Regions from separate parts of the Homo sapiens genome. Here region 1 is linked to region 2. The links are contacts of gene promoters, found by promoter capture Hi-C in blood cells and fetal thymus (Javierre and others, 2016). All regions are on one chromosome and are shown on one strand. Each heading gives the region's core, a stretch centred on a gene start or on the middle of the fragment in contact. The rest is flanking DNA. Distances are from core to core; before and after follow the strand shown. Region 1 holds the start of SLC19A2 (solute carrier family 19 member 2). Region 2 holds the start of POGK (pogo transposable element derived with KRAB domain).

Evidence for each region. The method cuts DNA at HindIII sites, captures the fragments that hold promoters and counts their contacts. A CHiCAGO score of 5 or more calls a contact.
Region 1: the fragment with the promoter of SLC19A2 here is called in contact with the fragment with the promoter of POGK in region 2 in 1 of 17 cell types (non-activated CD4 T cells); the score reaches 9.5 in non-activated CD4 T cells.

Annotation. Positions count from the first base shown.
Region 1 is chr1:169,483,138-169,488,076 of GRCh38, reverse strand. It overlaps SLC19A2 (solute carrier family 19 member 2), which reads left to right and starts at 2,133. Exons shown (of 6, transcript NM_006996.3): 1 at 2,133-2,514. The coding sequence starts at 2,311. RefSeq lists enhancers at 1,699-1,768, 1,076-1,996, 1,779-2,028, 1,832-2,126, 2,669-2,728 and a silencer at 2,309-2,488. The HindIII fragment of the contact is 10,248 bases long and covers 1-4,434 here.
Region 2 is chr1:166,837,071-166,842,619 of GRCh38, reverse strand. POGK (pogo transposable element derived with KRAB domain) reads right to left here and starts at 3,145. Exons shown (of 6, transcript NM_017542.5): 1 at 3,016-3,145; 2 at 1,532-1,665. The coding sequence starts at 1,663. RefSeq lists silencers at 2,620-2,859, 2,960-3,389. The HindIII fragment of the contact is 10,121 bases long and covers 1-5,549 here.

The DNA.
Region 1 (4,939 bases), core at 884-3,383, 2.6 Mb before region 2:
TGCCTATGTGATTTATACCAAGGAAAAGTTACAGAAGCAGTGATTTACAGATTAACGTGGTTCAGGTACCCAAGCCTCAGGGAAGGGATGGAAAGCTGTTTTTGTTATTGTTGTTTTGTTTTTTGAGACGAGTACTCGCGAGTCTCGCTCTCCGCTCACTGCAACCTCCGCCTCCTGGGTTCAAGTGGCTCTCCTGCCTCTGCCTCCCAAGTAGCTGGGACTACAGGCGTGCATGCCACTATGCCCGGCTAATTTTTGCATTTTTAGTAGAGACGTGTTTTCGCCATGTTGGCCTGGCTGGTCTGAGACTCCTGACCTCAAGTGATCCGCCCGTCTCGGCCTCCCAAAGTGCTGGGATTACAGGAGTGAGCCACCGTGACCAGCCAGAAAGCTATTTTTAATAAGTAGGCTTCTCTTTCCGAGGCCTCTCTGGCTTGCTTTCTCTTTCTTTCTTCTCTTCTACTAAAGCACTGAATGTAAATACAAAGCGATTGTCAAGAAGACCACCTGTTTTCTCTCTGTAGTCCTGATAAGAAGGGTTGGAGTTTAGGGGACTAGACAATTGAATAATATCGATTAGCAGTCCTCAAACATTTTGGTCTTAGGACCCTTGTTAGAGGTGCCCCAAAAATCTGTTGGGTTTTGTGGGTTATACTTATTGAAAATTGCCATATGGTAATAAATTAAACCTGGAAAGTCTTACAAACACAAGAATATACAAGCACGTATTCTCTCATCCTATAAAGCGATGATGTCATCAGACATTATATAGCCTCTGGAGTGGAAAAGGAAATAAAGACTTAGCATGGTTATGAAAATAGATTTGAGCTCGTGGAACCTCTGAAAGGGTCCCAAGGACCCCCAGGGCTTCCTCGACCACACTTTGAGACTCATTGAGATATGTAAATACTGCCAGTTGTATTTCTTCACAGATTAATCAACTCACAGATTTGGGTGCATTCATTTGTGCAGTCTTAGAAACAAATCTTTCCCTTTACCAGTATCTTATTCCATCTGGTAGACTCATTTCTGCTGCTGATGCTTGAAAAAAGTGTCATTTGCTACCACAGGAGGAAAACGGTGCTAGATGGATCATAACATACAGAAAAGCAAGATAGTTCCAAAATGTTTCCAAGAGCTTCTGGCAGGATCTGTCATTCTACAAATACTGCACAGGAAAAATTGCTTTAAATGCTGCATCTTTGCAGTAGAAAGATTAGGATTGAGCCAGGCTGTGAGTCAGGCAGAAAAAGGCACACAGAGGGGGATGAAAGAAAGCACTGGAGAGTCTTGTCATGCTTTGCCCTTGAAAACTATGCCAAGACCTCTTTTGTGTTTTTAAATGAAGAAATCCATCATGTTTTGTGATTGCTGTAATGACTCAGGATCTTCCACCTTCCTTTTAACTATAAACCGTAGCGTAGTTAGGTGTTTGTTTTCTTTGTATCATGCTTGCAAAAAGTGACGAAATAAAGTTAAAACCCTTTAACTGGGACTCCATTACGGTTCTGCTGTTCAGTGACCAGCTTGTTCATTATTCTCACAATATTATCTACTTTCTTCATTTCAGTCTGTCTCTTAGATCCTGGGCTTCTGATGTCTTTCCATGGCGGATGAATACAATTTAAAACACGAAAGCTGCTGGAGGAAAGGTTTAACGTTCCCCCTCCCCAAGGTGAAATCTTTGCCTGGCCTCAGTCACTAAGTCTCTCAGGAGCGGAAACTGAATGGACATTCCGGAGACGGTGAATAAGAATGATAAACGGTGGTTGGGGAGAACAGCGCGTTTCTTCCAGCGGAGGACTAGGCCCACAGGACGCATTCCCAACAGATGAGCGGAGCCGACAGCAAGTGTGCCACGAACGCCAGCTGGCCGCCTCACTAGAGAGAGCTCCGCCGCAAGCCGCCGCTTTTGGAGTGGAGTTCCACATGTCCTCCGCGCTTGAGCCCTGGGACGTCAGAGGCCTGGCGTGCTGCCACCGCCCCAGTTCACGTCGTGTGACCCACGACCAATGGAAGAGCAGGCAAGTATTCCCGGCGTCCGCTGTGATTGGTTCCCGGAGTGGAGGCGGTGGCAGAGGGTGGGCCTTAGGACGGGTCTCCCTTAAACTGGGCGATCAGGCAGCGACCCTAGAGGCGTCTGTAGGGTAAAGCTGGGGGTTCTGTAGCCGGAGGCGGCGGCGAGTCCAGAACGTCCTGGCCTTACAGGGAGAAGGCGTCACTCGCGGTTACAAGTGCCTGACCCTCACTCCAGTTGGCGGAGGAGGAGAAGGAAGGGGCCGGGCCGGGTCCCCTCCCCTCGCGCCCCGGATGGATGTGCCCGGCCCGGTGTCTCGGCGGGCGGCGGCGGCGGCGGCCACTGTGCTCCTGCGGACCGCTCGGGTCCGTCGCGAATGCTGGTTCTTGCCGACCGCGCTGCTCTGCGCCTACGGCTTCTTCGCCAGCCTCAGGCCGTCCGAGCCCTTCCTGACCCCGTACCTGCTGGGGCCGGACAAGAACCTGACCGAGAGGGAGGTACGCGCGGCGGACGCGGGGCGCGGGAAGGGCGGGCGACCGGCCTGCGGGTGGGCAGCGGAGGAAGAGAGGACCGAGAAAAGCGCTCGAGCCATTCTCGGCAGAGATTTCTGATTTTGCCAGTTGGAGGTCGGCTTCGTGCTCTTCTTTGTGTTCATGATTTTCTGTTTTCTTCGGCTCTGTAGGACGAGTCTCCTGCGAAGGGCTCAGAACACGCGTCCAGAGGCCCCGTGCCTTGTGCGTCAGGCAGTATGCTGATCGTGTTGTAATGTGGCTTAGCGTGACTGCCCAGACTGGTCCAGCAGTTCCTGCTGGGGGCGAGGGGGCAATATTTTGACAAAGAAGTGAAAACAGCAAAGTGTACTTTGGACACGGCTTAGTAAATATTCATTGACTGAAAGTAGGCAACCACTGCTTTTCTGAAAGGATCTTCCCTCTACCTCCTTCACCTGCTTCCTGTCCATACCTTACTTTGTTTGCATTTGGCAGAATGGGTGGGCTTAATCAAGTAAGGACAGGACAGAAGTACAGAACATCTTAATTTGTCTTGATTTTTAATTGGGTGAGGTTGTGTCCAAGGATATCCTGCCCCTCTCTACCTTAAGACCAACCTCCAGGGATAAAGGCAGATGGTGAAACATAATTGACTTTTAATTATAGTGTTTCTTGTATTGCGAATTGTTGCTTCACAGATGTTAGTTTTGCTTCTCAGATACAAGGTGATGTCTTTGAAGGCCTTCTGTGATGTTCAGGGTAATTGAGAGCACGTAGTCCATCATCAAGAGTTTCTTGCTGATTGATTTTTTCCCTAGATGAGGGCTTACAAATAAAGTACTTCAGAAGCGCATAGTGTACTTTAGAAATGTGCTGACCTATTTAAGTGCATGGTCAAAACCAGCACTTGATTTTTGCAGAAGAAAGACAATATATAAACTGAGAAAGAAATTAAACCCAAAGTACTTCCACAAAACCGAAATAAAGCCGATTCAACACCCTCTTCCTTGAATACAACAAAGGGTGAAAGCTGAGGTCTCATGTTCTTTTTCCTACTATCAGTCAAGGGGCCACTTGAGAGCTTTTTCTTTTTTCCTACACCTGTTCCTTCCACCCTGCCTCCTTGCCCCAGGTGCTGTAAAATACTCCTCCCATTTAAACCTTACTCTTCTCTATGTGGGTAGTAGTCAGTCACTTCTTTTGAGTAGCCACTCAGTAACCCTGCATAACAGGTCAGAACAAGAGATGGCACTACCGGAATCATTTGCACACTGGCGAGATATAGTTACTCATAGTTTGTTGTTTGCAGTTTGTTTGTTGCAATGCTCCGTCATTTTCAAGGGCACTTGAGAGAGAATTAAGAATCAGTATTGACTTACGTATTGAGGGTTTCACTTGAGAGTCTGACATTTGTTCACTTCTAGCAAGTATCACTGACTTTTTGCCTGGCCTTAAATTACCCTATTGACCTGCCAGTTGTGGGATGGAGTGGCTGGGCCGTTTCTCAGTCTTGTGGATCATTACATAAGCGACCGTAACAGTTATTCATAACCTATTTGAGTTTTAATACTGATTTAAAGCAATAATGTCAAAACAGCCAAATTTCATGACAGAATGATTTTACAAGAAAATTACTGCACTGATATGAGAAAGTATGATTCTGGAGACCCAAAACAACCACTGAATCTGAGGTGTAGCCACTGAGGCAGAATTGATACTGCTGTGAACAGCTGACCATTAAAGTTTCATGTGAACTGCCATGTGATCTGCACAGTTTGTGCGCCTTTCCGGATAGTGAAACACAGGGAGAGAAACATGTTCCCAGTGTTGATATTTGAAAGCTGATCTGTTTTGTCATGTGCTCTGGGTAGAAGGTTGCTGTGTGACGTGCTACCAAGATCATGTGCTCTGTCCTATCAGAAAGCTTTTCAAGGTGAGTGAAGTGTGTTCAGGGGGCACAGAAATAAAGCAGAGTTGCCAGGCGTAGTAACTATTTGCTGATTGTGTAACAAAAAACATAAGTGTACTTCTCTTATTGCAAATTAGTTGAGGAAAAGCGTGGGATTTGAAGAGAAATCTAGTAGTCTGGGGAAGGGGTGTCTTCTCAGAGGACCACCAAATCATGGCTGATTCTCCTCTGCTTACCTTGTGGCAAACCCTACGTTTTTTTGTATAACTAATAATTGAAATAAATAGAACAACTTATTCATTACTTACTGAATGCTTGTTTTTTGCCATGGACAGTTAAATAAAAAAAATTACATGATTTTTAAGCAAAGCTAATGCTAAGTCATATTCAGCGACATTTGTATTAAAGTTTGTATTTGCTCTTAGAAGACTGCAGAAGGGCCAAGTTGGTTTGAATAGAGCTATTGTTAACTAAATCCTAAAACAAAAGGAGAGGAGAAAAAGATTTCTTCTGTCTACTCTC
Region 2 (5,549 bases), core at 1,896-4,395:
TTAGGCCTTGTCCAGGAAGCCCCGGAGTTCTCAGCCTGAATGAGGCATCCCCTCATCTTGGCTCCTGGTGCATCCTTGCAGACTTCCACCACTGCACTCTGCACACTGTGCTTACTATTACTTATGTTTACTTTCCTGCCTTGCTCACAAGACTGGAAATTCCATCAGGAAAAGAGTCTCTCTTTACGCCCAGCACTGTGCTTGGTAACTGTGGATGGATGGCTGATTGCCTGGAGGCCACAAATGCCCAATCCCCAGCACCACCAGCTGCTGGACTCCCTCCTCCAGCCCTTCTGGTTACTTCCTTCTTTTCCCACCTAAGCATGGTTGGTCTTCATCTTGCTCCTTCCTCACTGTCCCAACATTCACTTTCATTGCACCTGTTCTCCAAGGCTCTCCATTTAGATGTTCTGGGTTGACCAATCTAGCCTCAAAGCCCTGAGTTTTGACTGCCTTGAGTTCTTGTTCCAGGCTAAATAGACCTGACGCCTGCTTGGATCAGAATTGGGAAGAAGGATGTGGTGGGCAAAGAACACTGATGAGACAAAGGCAGCGCGGTGTCCACAGCTAGACTGGCAAACTGAGAGCCTGTGGTTGCACTGTTTTTTTTTTTTTTAAATTAAGGTATAGCATACATATGGTAAAATGCATTACTTTTAAGGGTGCAGCTCAGGAGACCTGTTTTGAAGAACAAATGTCAGTGTTCATGTGTAACCTTAGGGCAAGGCAGATAATCTTTCTGCATCCCAGTTCTCTCCTCTGGTAGGGAACAATTTAGAAGTACCATGCTTGTATGGATAGGGGCTCTTCATGGAAGCAAAGGATACTATGTATACTGACAATGTTTATACACAACGGAAAATAAGCAGAGAAAAGGAATGTCAATTTGTTGCTTATTTAAAATGTTTACTATTCATGCCTAATTACCACGAAGTCCAGTAACTACGGTGAATAACTATCTGTAACTATAAGTATCTACTGCATTTGCATTTGTATAAACCGACCTCTATCATACTATTCTGCGTGTATACCCTGAATCTCTGTATTCCCTGCTGCCCACCATTTCTATCCAGGTCAGCTGGACAGGCAGCTCTCCTGTGTCAACTGTGGTAAGAGGTGCTCACACAGAACCAACTAGCCTAACCTCTCATGTCAACCCAATGACTCGAGTCTTATTTAAAATGGTTCCCTTCAACCAGCAGTAAGTCAACAAACATTTACTTGGTGCCTACAATGTGCCTGGCATCAAACGCAGTGCAGGATAAGTGGGTGAACGAGAGAGACAAGGTCCTGGCTTCTAGGACTTCCAATTGAACGATGACAAGCTACATGGCTGAGGGACTGTTTCCATAACACCTCCTCCATTCTTTGCACTGCCTTTTAAAGCCACAGAGCTGTTTTCTCAGGAATGCAAACACACCGGGCTGGGCTATTTTTACTTCCCACGTCTGTCTGAGGAGGAGACTTAAAGCAAGCTGGGCTCTCAGGCCTGCATCTGCTGGCTGTGTGGACTCCACACCTTCTTACTTACCCATCCGCCCTCAGAGCAGATTCGTACTTTCTGCATGTCTGCCGGGCCGTCCTCTAGTTCCCGGCTCTGAATCTCTTCTTCCTCTTCCTCTTCTTTCAGGCTCAAATTGAGAGGGTAGGCTGTGGACTCCATCTCTGCAAGCAAGATTCAGGTTCAGAAAAACCAGGTGTCACTGTGACCTCCCCAAAGCCTATGATGGGGGAGGCTGAGCCACATACAAACCTCTTTAGCCCCAAGCACTGTTCCCGCTGGAGGGAAGTAAGGAAACAAGAGTCGGCCAGGAAGCTACAGGGTGACATGTTTAATTATGATAAGAGAGGCTGTGGGTAGATAACGTATCTGGCTGCCTTCAAATATTTAAAAAGCTATCTGGGGAAGAGAACCCAGACTGGTTTGTAGAGACTGGACGGCAGAACAGAGGCCGGCCAGTGGATAAATACTCCTGGAAAAGGTTTTAAGCAGTGAGAAAGGCAGTACTTTCTCACAGCCAGTGCCACCCAAACAGGAATCAGAGGCAGGGGAAAGGTGCTGATTTCCTATCAGTGAAGGTGTCTGAACACAGATTGGACACTTACTCAACTGGAATGGGTGCTAGAAGCCAGTTAAGCATGGGCGGAGCGGTTGGCTCAGTAGGCCCATTGCCTGGATTTTCCAAATTCAAAGGTTCTGTCCACGAGCTGGTTCAGAAAATAGGGTCATTCTACCTTAAGGGACTTTGCAAACGCAGGAGTCAGTGAAACATAGTGAGGGTTATGCCTGGATACCCAAAAAGGTGCAGAAATCGGCTGGGGCCCACCCCGACAGGGAAATAACCCATTGCCTCTGGGCTGCAAATTCTCTATTCGCTGACTCTTGGCCAGTACAAAGGGCCGCACTCCTGCCCTCTATGGGCGCGGGCAATTCCTAGGTGTGGAGTGCGGATGCATCTTGAGGGCTGCATCGGGGAACCTCCAAAGAAAAGATCCCTCTGGAGTTCAAAGTCGGTTCCTTCGATATTTCCAAAAAAGATAGGCGAACGCGGCATGGATGGGTCTAGGCTTCAGATGCCTGCAGCTGGGGCCCGAACTTGGCGGCGGTCTCCCTGCCGGCTCCGGGGCAGAGGTGGGAGGGGCCGCCTCCCCGCGCTAAGGTGCCGCAACCAGGGCCGCCGCCCGCCCTGCCCCGCCTGCGCCACCGCCGCCGCGCCCCCGGGCGCGTTCGGATTTCTCCAGCCATCTTGCCCCATTTCCCTTTCTCCGCGGAACCGCGCCGGGAGCGCTTCCGCTGCCCCCTCCGCCCGGCCCGCCTCCCCACCTGGCCCCCTCCCGGCCCCAGCGCACCTGCCGGGCGGCGAGAGCCGGCGCCGCCCGCCTCCCCGGCGGGCCCGCAACAAAGGCGGCGGCGGCGGCGGCGCAGCCTCGGCGCCCCCGCCTCTGCCGCGGCCCAGCCGCCCGGGACCCGGGGGAGGGGCCGCGCCGCCGCCGCCCCCGCCCGCGCGCACTCACCGCCGGGCCCAGCGGCCAGGGCGCGGGGTGGGGACGCGAGGGCTCCGGCCCGGCTGTCACAGCGCCATCCTTTCCGCCTCTCCGTCCTCCCGTGCGCGCGGCCCCTCGGGAGGGAGCGGGGAGGACACGTGGTGGGAGGAGGGAGGGTCCGGCCCGGAGCTGAGGGTGTTGGGAGGCGAGGGGAGGAGCGCGGCTGATGTCAGCAGGCCTCGGCGGCGCCGGGGGACGGCGCCCGCGCGAGCTCCGGGGCCCTCCTCTAGGCGCGGCTTCCGGCCGGTCCGGGCAGTCCCTGGCGGGCCTGGGTAGCCGTGCCCTCGGCCTTCCCCGCCCCGCCCGATGCAGGCCGCTTCCAGTGCTGCGTGTGACCTCGGCGTGGACGAGGCAGGAAGAGCCCAGATTGATTTTAACCGAGCGTAGCGTGGGCGCACAGTTCCATGTGCTCATTTGCAGTCACCAGCGGGTTGCACTTGCTTGGACGAGCTCTCCAGGCGTTCTCGCCGTGCTTCAGGCAATGAAAGGCTAGACCGGCAAGAGCGTGTAGGGGCATGAGGAGGGGTCTTTGGGGAAGAGTATTCGTATTCTGGCAGCGGGCTCCTGTCCAGAACTTCGTCATATACATGGAGAAGGAACTTCCTGATTTTTGTAGCTGTTGCTTAATATCCCAAGCATGTAATTCCTTGGATGAAGTGGGTGTATAGAAGGACCTTTCTTCTCCAAAACGTCCAAAGGAGTTGTTTACTCTCAGCTCTGTGGGCAATACAACAAAAGTGACCTGAGAAGCCCTGAAGCCCTTTTCATTCCAGAAAAAGATTCTGGGTATGGGTTTTTGTTGAGAACTTGTTGAAGAAAAAATTATTCTGACACTTGTTAAAACAGTAAGGAAGACTTTATACAGGGTTATTGCTATAGGTGTAAAGATGATCACACTGGGGGGAGAGATGAGGTCTAACACGGAATACAGTAAGGACAGCTGGGGATGTATAGCCAAGGAGCAGAACGAAGGGGTCAGTAGATGGAAAGTTACTGATACGAGACATCAAGCACCTAGAGGGATTCTTGCTGAACCCACTTAACAGGATTCTTGCTGAAGGCAGGCTAGGGCGATCAGATATCAAGGGTGGGGGAATGAGAAATTTGATCAGATATCCAGGGTGATCAGATATCAAGGGTGGTGATTTCTCTCTAACCTAACTTAGCAGGGTTCTTGCTAAAATAGAGCTGGGCAGGCCAAAGGTTCGGGGTGAGTGGTCAGGGGACCAGGGTGGAGGCCTGCTGAAGAAGAGGACTTAAGCCTGATTAAACTTTGGTCAAGGAAAGAGTCCGTCAAACTCTTCAGATTGTCTCTGAGACCTGAATATCTGTTGGAAAAGACCTGTCTTTCCAAGTTTTTGTGGCCACTACTACTTACATGTGAATTTTACTTCTCTCAGTCATGGGAGAGGTCACTGTGCACTGTGCTCTTAACACGTAAAATGTAGCATGACATAACGTACACATCTTGGAAGTGCAATCACGGTGACAACCCAAGACCGTAGAAGATCTAATCTGTGGGTGGAAAAGATCGTTCAAATATTGGGAGGGAGGCTAGAATTTACTTTTTTGTTTTAATGAACAATTATTTTTGTGTAAAAGTAAGTATTTGTAGAACAGGAGTGACATGTTAGTTTGAATTGATTGACATTGCCCTCTTAATTTTTCTGAGGAAATGGCAGATTCAAACAGAAAGTGAGGAGGACATTAGGAAGGGAGAAGAGTAATAGGGATGTTGCTGGCACCCCAGCATCTTAGAAAAGAAATTAATACAGTTTTGAGATAGACACACACACACACACACACACAGACACACACACACGAAAAACCCTACTATGTTAGAGTTTTAGTCTCTGAGAGCCCTAATGTTCTCATGGGCTTGGATTAGGTGTCCCTGGGAAGAAATTAAGAGTGACCCACCCGAATTCTTGACTTTGAGCCCACAGCCCCATGATCTCAATTACTGTTAGAGGATCTTAGAGGATCCACCTTTTTACGGGTCTGTAATTGCTAACAAGACTTACTCTAGGAGCAACGTGCTGGCCTAGGCACAATACACTACAGACTCATGTTTAAGTGGTTTTCTAAGTCATTGTGCTTCTCTTTGCTGGTGTTTCATCTGCAAAAAGAGAGTTGAACCATATATTGTCCTAACATTCTCTCAGCTCTGTTATTGTTCCCATTCTCCATAAGACTTTATCTGAGTCTGAATGGGGAGTGATTGAAGCCAGTCTTTGAGACAGTGCATTACTCTGGTAATTCAATAGGATGAGTTTCTCTTAGTTGGTGGCTAATATCAGCCGAACATCCATTTAATCAACATAATAGTTCTTTAATGATGCTGTTGGTCTGACTTCATCCTTCCTCCTATTGAATTATTATAGTACCCAAACTATAGGAATTCCAAAGAGCCTCAAATTTTACAAAATACTCATTTCTAACTGTAGTGTTCCCTGGTGAATACACATTTCTGATTTCCTTCAGCAGAGGCCCCATGGCCAGGT